Linked DNA regions of Homo sapiens: all the other regions are linked to region 1. Evidence: promoter capture Hi-C in 16 types of primary human blood cells and fetal thymus (Javierre and others, 2016). All regions are on one chromosome and are shown on one strand. Each heading gives the region's core, a stretch centred on a gene start or on the middle of the fragment in contact. The rest is flanking DNA. Distances are from core to core; before and after follow the strand shown.

Evidence for each region. Contacts are between HindIII fragments. The CHiCAGO score rates a contact against its expected background, and 5 or more counts as called.
Region 2: a contact is called between a fragment that was not itself captured here and the fragment with the promoter of WNT6 in region 1, in 1 of 17 cell types (M0 macrophages). The highest score is 6.2, in M0 macrophages.
Region 3: a fragment that was not itself captured here is called in contact with the fragment with the promoter of WNT6 in region 1 in 1 of 17 cell types (M2 macrophages); the score reaches 5.4 in M2 macrophages.

The regions. Positions count from the first base shown.
Region 1 is chr2:218,858,438-218,861,158 of GRCh38, forward strand. It overlaps WNT6 (Wnt family member 6), which reads left to right and starts at 1,368. Exons shown (of 4, transcript NM_006522.4): 1 at 1,368-1,680. The coding sequence starts at 1,601. The HindIII fragment of the contact is 26,174 bases long and covers 1-2,721 here.
Region 2 is chr2:219,142,692-219,145,412 of GRCh38, forward strand. All of the region lies in intron 5 of NHEJ1 (non-homologous end joining factor 1), which reads right to left. Among named protein-coding and RNA genes, the nearest start is that of NHEJ1, 17 kb to the right of the region's middle. The HindIII fragment of the contact is 4,364 bases long and covers 1-2,721 here.
Region 3 is chr2:219,122,380-219,125,100 of GRCh38, forward strand. All of the region lies in intron 5 of NHEJ1 (non-homologous end joining factor 1), which reads right to left. Among named protein-coding and RNA genes, the nearest start is that of NHEJ1, 37 kb to the right of the region's middle. The HindIII fragment of the contact is 1,259 bases long and covers 686-1,944 here.

The sequences.
Region 1 (2,721 bases), core at 118-2,617:
ATCTTGATCTACTTGTCCCCCCTCTCTGGGTGACTCAGGATCTTGTCTTCTCTCTCTGCTCACCAAGGTTGTTTGGAAGTGACCTCAGTCATCACTCTCTTGGAAGCGACCTCAGTCCCCACATTCAGGTCCCCCTCTCTACCAACAACCAGGAGCTTTCTTCTGGGCGCCTGACGTTTCTGCCATAGGGACTCGATCTGTCCTCCCCACTCCAGGACAGCTTTAAAGGTTGATGGTTGCTCTTGATGGTATGGCAGGGAGAATGTCCCACACCACCTGTCCCTTGGCACCCCGGGGCACGTCGGGGACGGGAGGGGCAGGGGCTGCTGCCCACTGCCAGCCGAATGGCATGATGAATGGAGCTGTCCCTCTTCCCCACGGAGCCTTTGATCTCCCCCTCGTGGGGAGGGGGCCAGGGGCATCAAAGACATTTTTGTGGCATTAGAAAATCTGATAAACGCCATCTCACCTGCAGCTGGCTCTCCCACCCCTTCTACCCGGGCCAGGTTGGGGGAGGAACTCGAGGCAGGGACTCTTGGACACGCGAGGCCGGGCTAAAGCGAATTCTGACCCCTCGATCTCTTGAAAGTCTGCGACCTCCATTCTCCCGCTCGCTTACAAGTGCCAGCGCTTGCGCGCACGCCCTGGAGCGGCTACTCTTGCCCTCTCATTTCCCCCACCTCCCCGCCCTAGAACGCGGGCTTGAGAGGTGGGATGGCTGGGGGAGCGAGAGCGGAGGCCCAGGGCTTCCTCCCTTCTTCAAGGAGAGGCTGACGAAGGGGCATGAGGCATCGAACAGGGACACGGAAAGAGATGACCCCTCCAGCATCCGCCTGTCGGGCGGTCCAGTTTGACAACCCTCGCCGAAGCACCCCGCGCCCCAGGCCAACTTCCTCTCTTGCCTCCGCGCCAGCATCTCCCTCCGCACCGCCCCCCGCCCCAAACTCCCTCATTCCTGGGAAGTTTTCTCTCTTTACAGTCAACAAACCTGTCAAACGTCTCCCTTCCAGCCCGTCCCCCATTCCTCAGCTCCTCTTTCTCCCCCCTCACCCCTCTCTACTCTTCTTCCCAGCCCTTCCTTGCCCCCGACTCCAGGCGGCCGCGAGCGGCGGGGGGCTCCAAGTCCGAGAGAGGCGAGGCGAGGGGGCGAAGCGGGCGGGTCCCACAGCCCGAAGCGCGCTGGGGCCCCGCCCCGGCACCCCGCTCCCGCCCTCCGCTGCGCTCCGCGCCAGCCGCCCCGGGGCGCACGGCTCGCTCCCGAGAGTCCCGCTGCCTGACTGTCGCAACTGCCACCTCCCTCCGGCCCCCTGCCCCCCGCCCCCGCCTCGGCCCCGCTCCCCTCCCACCTCCGCCCCCGGCTCTGATTTCTTCTCCCGAGCGAGCTCCGCAGGAGACACAGGCGCTGGCTGCCCCGTCCGCTCTCCGCCTCCGCCGCGCCCTCCTCGCCCGGGATGGGCCCCCCCGCCGCCGCCGGATCCCTCGCCTCCCGGCCGCCGCCGTTGCGCTCGCCGCGCTCGCACTGAAGCCCGGGCCCTCGCGCGCCGCGGTTCGCCCCGCAGCCTCGCCCCCTGCCCACCCGGGCGGCCGTAGGGCGGTCACGATGCTGCCGCCCTTACCCTCCCGCCTCGGGCTGCTGCTGCTGCTGCTCCTGTGCCCGGCGCACGTCGGCGGACTGTGGTGGTGAGTCCGGCTGTCCTGGCGCGGCTCTGGACCCTGGAGGGTGGGGACCCCGGGACCCAGGACAGACTGGGGTGTTCCGCAGCCTCCCGGCTCTACCTGCTCTCCGAGCCCAGCTTTCTGGCCTCGGCCGGGGGCGTTTCTGAACTCCACTTCGACGTTCCTAACCCTCGGGAACATTCTATTGTGTTTCCTCCTCCCGGGTTCTCTCCCACCCCCCGCCAAGTTATGCGCTCACCCAGCTCACCAAGGAACAGGCGAGTGGGTAGGAAAGATCTTTCGGGAAGACACATATCCGAGGAAAAGAATGTGTGAGGAGGGCCCTGGATTCAGGGTATGGGGCTGGATTTGGAGAAGACAGGAACAAGGTGGGAAGCCACAAGGCAGAGAGGGCCACACAGCTGCCCCTTCCCCGCCCTGCTTTGCCTACCAACCCACCGGCTTCTCTCTGGGCTCCTGAGGAGTGGGCCTTAGTGACGACAGAGGGAATATAAAGGGGAAAGTGAGTCAGGACCCTGGTTTTCTCTACCTCGTCCTCCCCAAGCAAGGAAAAGGAGGAGCGGAAGGAACCGGACCCAGGCGCCCGGCCCTTCCAGACCTGGGGGTCATGAATGAAAAAATATGTGCAGCCCGGGAGATACGGGACCGGGAGGGGTCCTGCGGGAAGGGAGAGGGGCCTGGCCAGCCAAGGGAAGGGGGCGTCTTCCCAGGCTTGGCCCTAGCTAGAAGGGACACCTAGGCAGCGAAGGTTGCGGGAGCTTCGAGCCTTGGGGGTGGGGGTGGGGCCGGGGCGGGGAAGGAGGGTGCCCGACCGGGACGGCTCAGAGATCCAGATCCAAAGGACTTTTTTCCCCCTAGGTCTCCAGAGCCGCAAACCCTCGCCCGGAATAGCTCAGTGTTTAGAGAGGAGAGACTTGGACAATAACGCTGACGGGTTAGCCAATCCTAAGAAGGCAGGGTCGTGTCTATTTGCATATTGCCATGTGATTGGCTGGATGCCGACCCTCCGCTCCTCCCTCGCCCCCCAGATTTGGAAGAGAGGCA
Region 2 (2,721 bases), core at 141-2,640, 280 kb after region 1:
CTACTGCCGTGTAACAACAGTCCCTAAGTCCCTGACTCTTCTTTCACTCCTAAAGATGCCTCTCAACCCCCAGTCCTACAAAATGCCCTATATAGGGTTCTTGGCCTCCATGAAGATCATGCCAACAGGCATCCCACCCAGGCTTGACTTGAGTCAATATTGTCAGTATCACCCTCTAGTTAGGCCACTATCAACTGGCTCCTTGGGTTCCCCAGAATTGAGAAATCAGAGGCTCTTAGACAGAGTGGAAAAACAAAAGGACCAAATAGGGAGAAGTAACCCCTGTTCAATTCTTATTTTCCCGAGCCTTAGTATCCTAGCCACCTGCCTGGCCTACTGTCCCCTGTGCCTTATTGTCTATAGCCTCTTGCCTAGTAATAATCCCAATGAGAATTTTAAAAACTGACCCCAGGCAATGACCGCATGGCCCTCTGACACCAGCCCTGGCCCCCCTGCGCCTTCATCTTGAGCTCTCTCCCTGGTTTGTTTATCTTCCTATTCCATCTTGCTTATTTTGATGGCACATCCTTTCAGTTCAGTCTTGGGTGACCCCATGACCCTTCTGTGTCCTGTTTGTAGGACCCCGGGCAAGCAGAGTAACTAAAAAGATGCAGTAGTCATAAGAAGTTCTACAGCCCCAGTAGGAAACCTTTCAGTTCCAGCAGCTATACAGGACATTCTGAGGACAGTGCAATGACCCCAGAGGTCACAAGAATTCCATATTACCCCAGCCCTTATGTCTCCCCTAACAGGTGTGTACAACCAGTTAAACTAGCAAAACAAAACAGGGATAATCCTAGACTATGTGTCAAGAAATGTGAGAAGTCCTAAACATAAAGCTACAGCTATATGACCTTAGGCAAGTCACTTAACCTCTCTGAGGCTCAACTTCTTCATCTATAAAATAGAAAGCTGTAACTACAACTACCTATCTCTCACTTCCTTTCCAGATATAATAAAATTCTACAAGTCTATGAGGTTGATCCACCCAGAACCTACAGGACCAGTATTCTTGAAGTAGCTGGTTCCAAAACACTGATACTCTTCCTGTGCTGCCACCTAAATTCTGTATGCTTTCTCATTCAATTCCGCAGGGCTCCTCCCAACCCCATAGTATGAAAACGATGAGCCTCTAATTTTATAAATGAGAAGTGATTTATCCAAAGCTGCAAAATGAGCCATGAGAATAACTGAAGACCCCAAATATAGGTCTAATAAGCAACACTGAGCCAGGTGCAGTGGCTCACGCCTGTAATCTCAGCACTTTGAAAGGCCAAGGTGGGCGGACCACATGAGGCCAGGCATTCAAAACCAGCCTGGCCAACATGGTAAAACCCTGTCTCTACTAAAACTACAAAAATTAGCCAGGTGTGGTGGTGCATACCTGTAATCCCAGCTACTCAGGAGGCTGAGGCACAAGAATCTCTTGAACCCGGGAGGCAGAGATTACAGTGAGCCGAGATCACCCCACTGCACTCCAGCCAAAAAAAAGCAACACTGTATCCACAGGCCACAGTGTCATAATCTGTATAAAATCCCCCTAGCATAGACTTATCAAAATATTAATCCAAACTTATTGAAGACTTACTACCTGTAGGCACCACGCACAGTGCTGGGGATATAGAAATGCATTCAGCATGGTCCTTGCCTCAAAGAGTCCACAGATCAGTGGAGGAGAAAGCCATAGTCTTGCAGGCATACAAACAGTAATATTACAATGTTATAAGTGGTAAAACAGAGGTATAATCCAAGGTACTATAGTAGCAGGGAAGAAGAATAGTCTTTACAAGCAGAGTACAGAACGGTCTCCCAAACAAGGTGAAGCTGACATCTAGAAGATTAATAGAAGTTTGCAAGTTAGATAAGGCCAGAACATTGGACATTCTAGATCATGGGAAGAATGTGTATCTAAAGACAAGATGAAACAGCATTGGGGCAAATTAAAAGTCATTCCATATAGCTAAGGCATAAAGTACACAGAGAAAAATGTCAAGAAGTCAAGCTGGAGAGGTATGCAGGCACTAGATCAGGAAGAGACCTCTCTACTGAGCTAAGAACAAGCCTTGCATTGTTTAACTAAGGGGATGAGGCAGGGAACCAGCATGTTATCCCCAGCCTTGATACCTAAACTTATAGACAGGGGAAGCTATCTAAGAGAAAAACGGCCTAAGAAATCTCTCTTAGTCACAAGTTTAGGTTTAACGGTCTCTCTTTACCCATAAAAACTTGAAACCTTTTCTAGGCTAGGCATGGTGGCTCACATCTATAATCCCAGTACTTTGGGAGGTCAAGGAGGGTGGATCACTTGAGGCCAGGAGTTCAAGACCAGCCTGATCAACATGGCGAAACCCCGTTTCTACTAAAAATACAAAAATTAGCTGGGTGTGGTGGTGCGCACCTGTAATCCCAGCTACTTGGAAGGCTGAGGCAGGAGAATTGCTTGAACCTGGGAAAGGGATGTTGCAGTGAGCCAAGATTGTGCCATGGCACTCCAGTCTGGGTGACAGAGCAAGTGAGGCTTCGTTTCAAAAACAACAACAACAACAACAACAACAACAAAAAGACTTGAAACCTTTTCTCTTTCAGGACTTAGCAATACAAGTTTTCCTTCTTCTTCAGACTTACAATTGCTTCAGTACCTGGACTGAGCACCTACCTCACATTTTTTGCTTTTAGTGTTTAGACCCCAAGCATTGTAGCTCAGTCAATGCACAGAGGCAG
Region 3 (2,721 bases), core at 65-2,564, 260 kb after region 1:
ATCTCATTTTCTGAGCCATATGCTTCTTGGGGGCAGGAATCATGTTAGTTATCTCTGTACCCTTGGCACAGTAAGTACTTAAATATGTTAGTTTCCTATCCCCCATAGTACTGGTACAAGAACCTAAACCCAGTGGTATTCAATAAATGCTGGATAAGGATGATAACATTAATAACAGCCATTCAGCACAACTCCACTAAGTTGTCAGACCAGTTTAGGATATTGGCATGAAAAATGCTTTTTCTCCTGGCCCAGACATTTACTCTTAAGATTTGCCTCCTCCTCAATAGACTCCAGGAAATAGGGTTAGTTTTAAGTTCTAGAAACTCTAATCATTCCTGTTTTCTCCAAACTAAGGGCCTGAAGGAAGACTGCAGATACCTCATGAATATTGATGAGCCTCTGCGGTCACATGAATATTAACAACACCCTGTGGCTTTCGGGAACAGCAGCCCAGCTAGAAGGTCTAATATTAACCTTGGCTAGGCCCAAAAAGTAGAAAGCGCATATGCCCATACATCCCCATGGGGAGTAAAGAGTGGATAGCGGAGGCCAGTTTGGAGCTTGGCCCCTATGCAAACACTGGGCACACAGGCAGTTAAGAAAGAACTAAACATTGTGTCCTACGTCCCTGGCACTGGGGGGCTCTGTTAGTAGCTACCCAGGCAGGAATCCCCAATTCTCAAGCTTTGGAGAAGTTAGGATGTAGAGGCTAAATCATACTCAATTCAGAAAAACACTGGTAGGGATACACTGACCTAGTTCAATAGCTACAGTAGAGGGGTAGGAAAGGTTGACAGTCAGATCACATAGGACAAAAACCAGAATCAAATTACAAGGCTCAATTAGGCAACAAAGACATATTTTGTAGATCACACATTAACAGTAAGTAAAGTTCTATAGACTGGAGTTTCCAGCCCCATACCCTCCCATGAGACTAGTGGACACAGAAAACAATGACTGAGACTTAAGCGGAAAGCTATTCTACGACTGATGCAGTGAGAGACAGAAGGAGTCAGAATCTTTTTCCACCTACAGATCCTCAACCCAGGAAACATCAGAAAGAATGATGATCATTATTAAAAACAAACAAAAACAACAAAACAAAAAGTACTGTGAATCAAAGTTAACCAAAGAAACCCATGTACGCCTAGCCCTGGGTCTAAGTTCAAAATCTACTTCTATGTCACATGACAGAACTATTAAAAGGAAAGGCAGGTTAAGTAACCCCATGCAGTGGCTGGAATTAATGCTAATAAGATTCCTGCTGTACTCATCCACCAAGACAGACTACATTTAAAACTAGAAAAGTGCGTCTTTACTCCTCTAGCCTGATCCTACTCAAAGGCCTTCACCCCTTAGCTCTGCCTGAAAAGCTGATCCGACCCCCTTTACCCACACTCAAGAGGAACAGAGAGGCCTGTAGGCCTAGCCCAAGCTGAGGTGGTGAGAGGCCACACCTAGGAAGAGGGTGGGGGCTACTCTCAGGCGCTGTGTTCTGTCACACAATTACCATATTATGTAGCTCTAATAAAAAGAAATACTTGAAGTTTTATTAGTGCCATATAATAAAGTATTTATAGAATCCTGGCGGTGGGGGCAGAGGTAGAGAGAGGGAGAAGGAAATAGGAGGAATCGAAATTGTTAGCAATAACCCTAGCAATGGCAGCCCCCAGCATTCGCCACCCTGGGTAAACCTCAAAGACTTCAGCCTGGGACATCAGGCCAGCTGTCATCAACCTAGATCAGCATGGCTTACTGTTCACTCCCTCTACAACAGTCCGTCTCTGACTTCTTCCTGGTTAACAAAGAAAGAGGTGAGGAACTGGGAGGAGTAGGGAAGAGGAATAAAGAATTGATATCAGCAAAACTGTGGAGCCTAGGCCTGAAAAGGCTGGGAAGCAGAGGAAAGCGGGCATCAGTTGAAAGAATGAGTGGAATGTAAGCTTTAAAAGGTTCCATTCTGGAGCTAAATTTGAGTTCTCACCATCCAGCATATCTGACCGTTTTGAAATTTGCCCAAACAGGGTTTTCCATTACTGCACTGGCCCCTTCTGCACACCTCTCATACACCCACTCCAACCACACTCTCTACTCACCACCACCACCACGAGAGGAGTGCACCCCACACCTACTCCAACCACATGACACACACCCACACCTTCTCCCACACCGCCCCTCCTCACACATGGTCCTCACAGCCACAGTGCACACACATACAACACACTCACCACAGCACACTCCTTCTTAAGGCTACCAGCTGCCTGCATTTCCTGGGCATCTTCCCAACTTAAGACACATCCTAGATAAAAACATTTTCGGAGTCTACAACACTCTTTAACATTTTAAAATTTTCTATTACCCAGAAAATCTCCCCAAAGAGAGAGAGAAGTGAGGGCTGTGACATTATTACAGAGAAGACTATAAACAGAACAAATATAGTGCTGCTTTATTACAAGGCAGTGTGGGGTTGGTGGCTGGCTGATTACAGGGCCACTCCCCAGAGCTCTCTGCAGTCCCAGACCTCAATAAAGGCCAGACTTGAGCTGCCTTCAACTGAGGGGCCCCCTTCAGATTCCAGTCCAGGATGTGCTATCTGCCTTGGTTGAAGATAAGGAGGAAAGCAAACACAATCTAAGAACAACCATGCTTGGCAAAGAGCCACTTGACCATCTTCTCAAAGGCAAACACAATTAAGATGGTTTGGGTTTCTTGGAATCA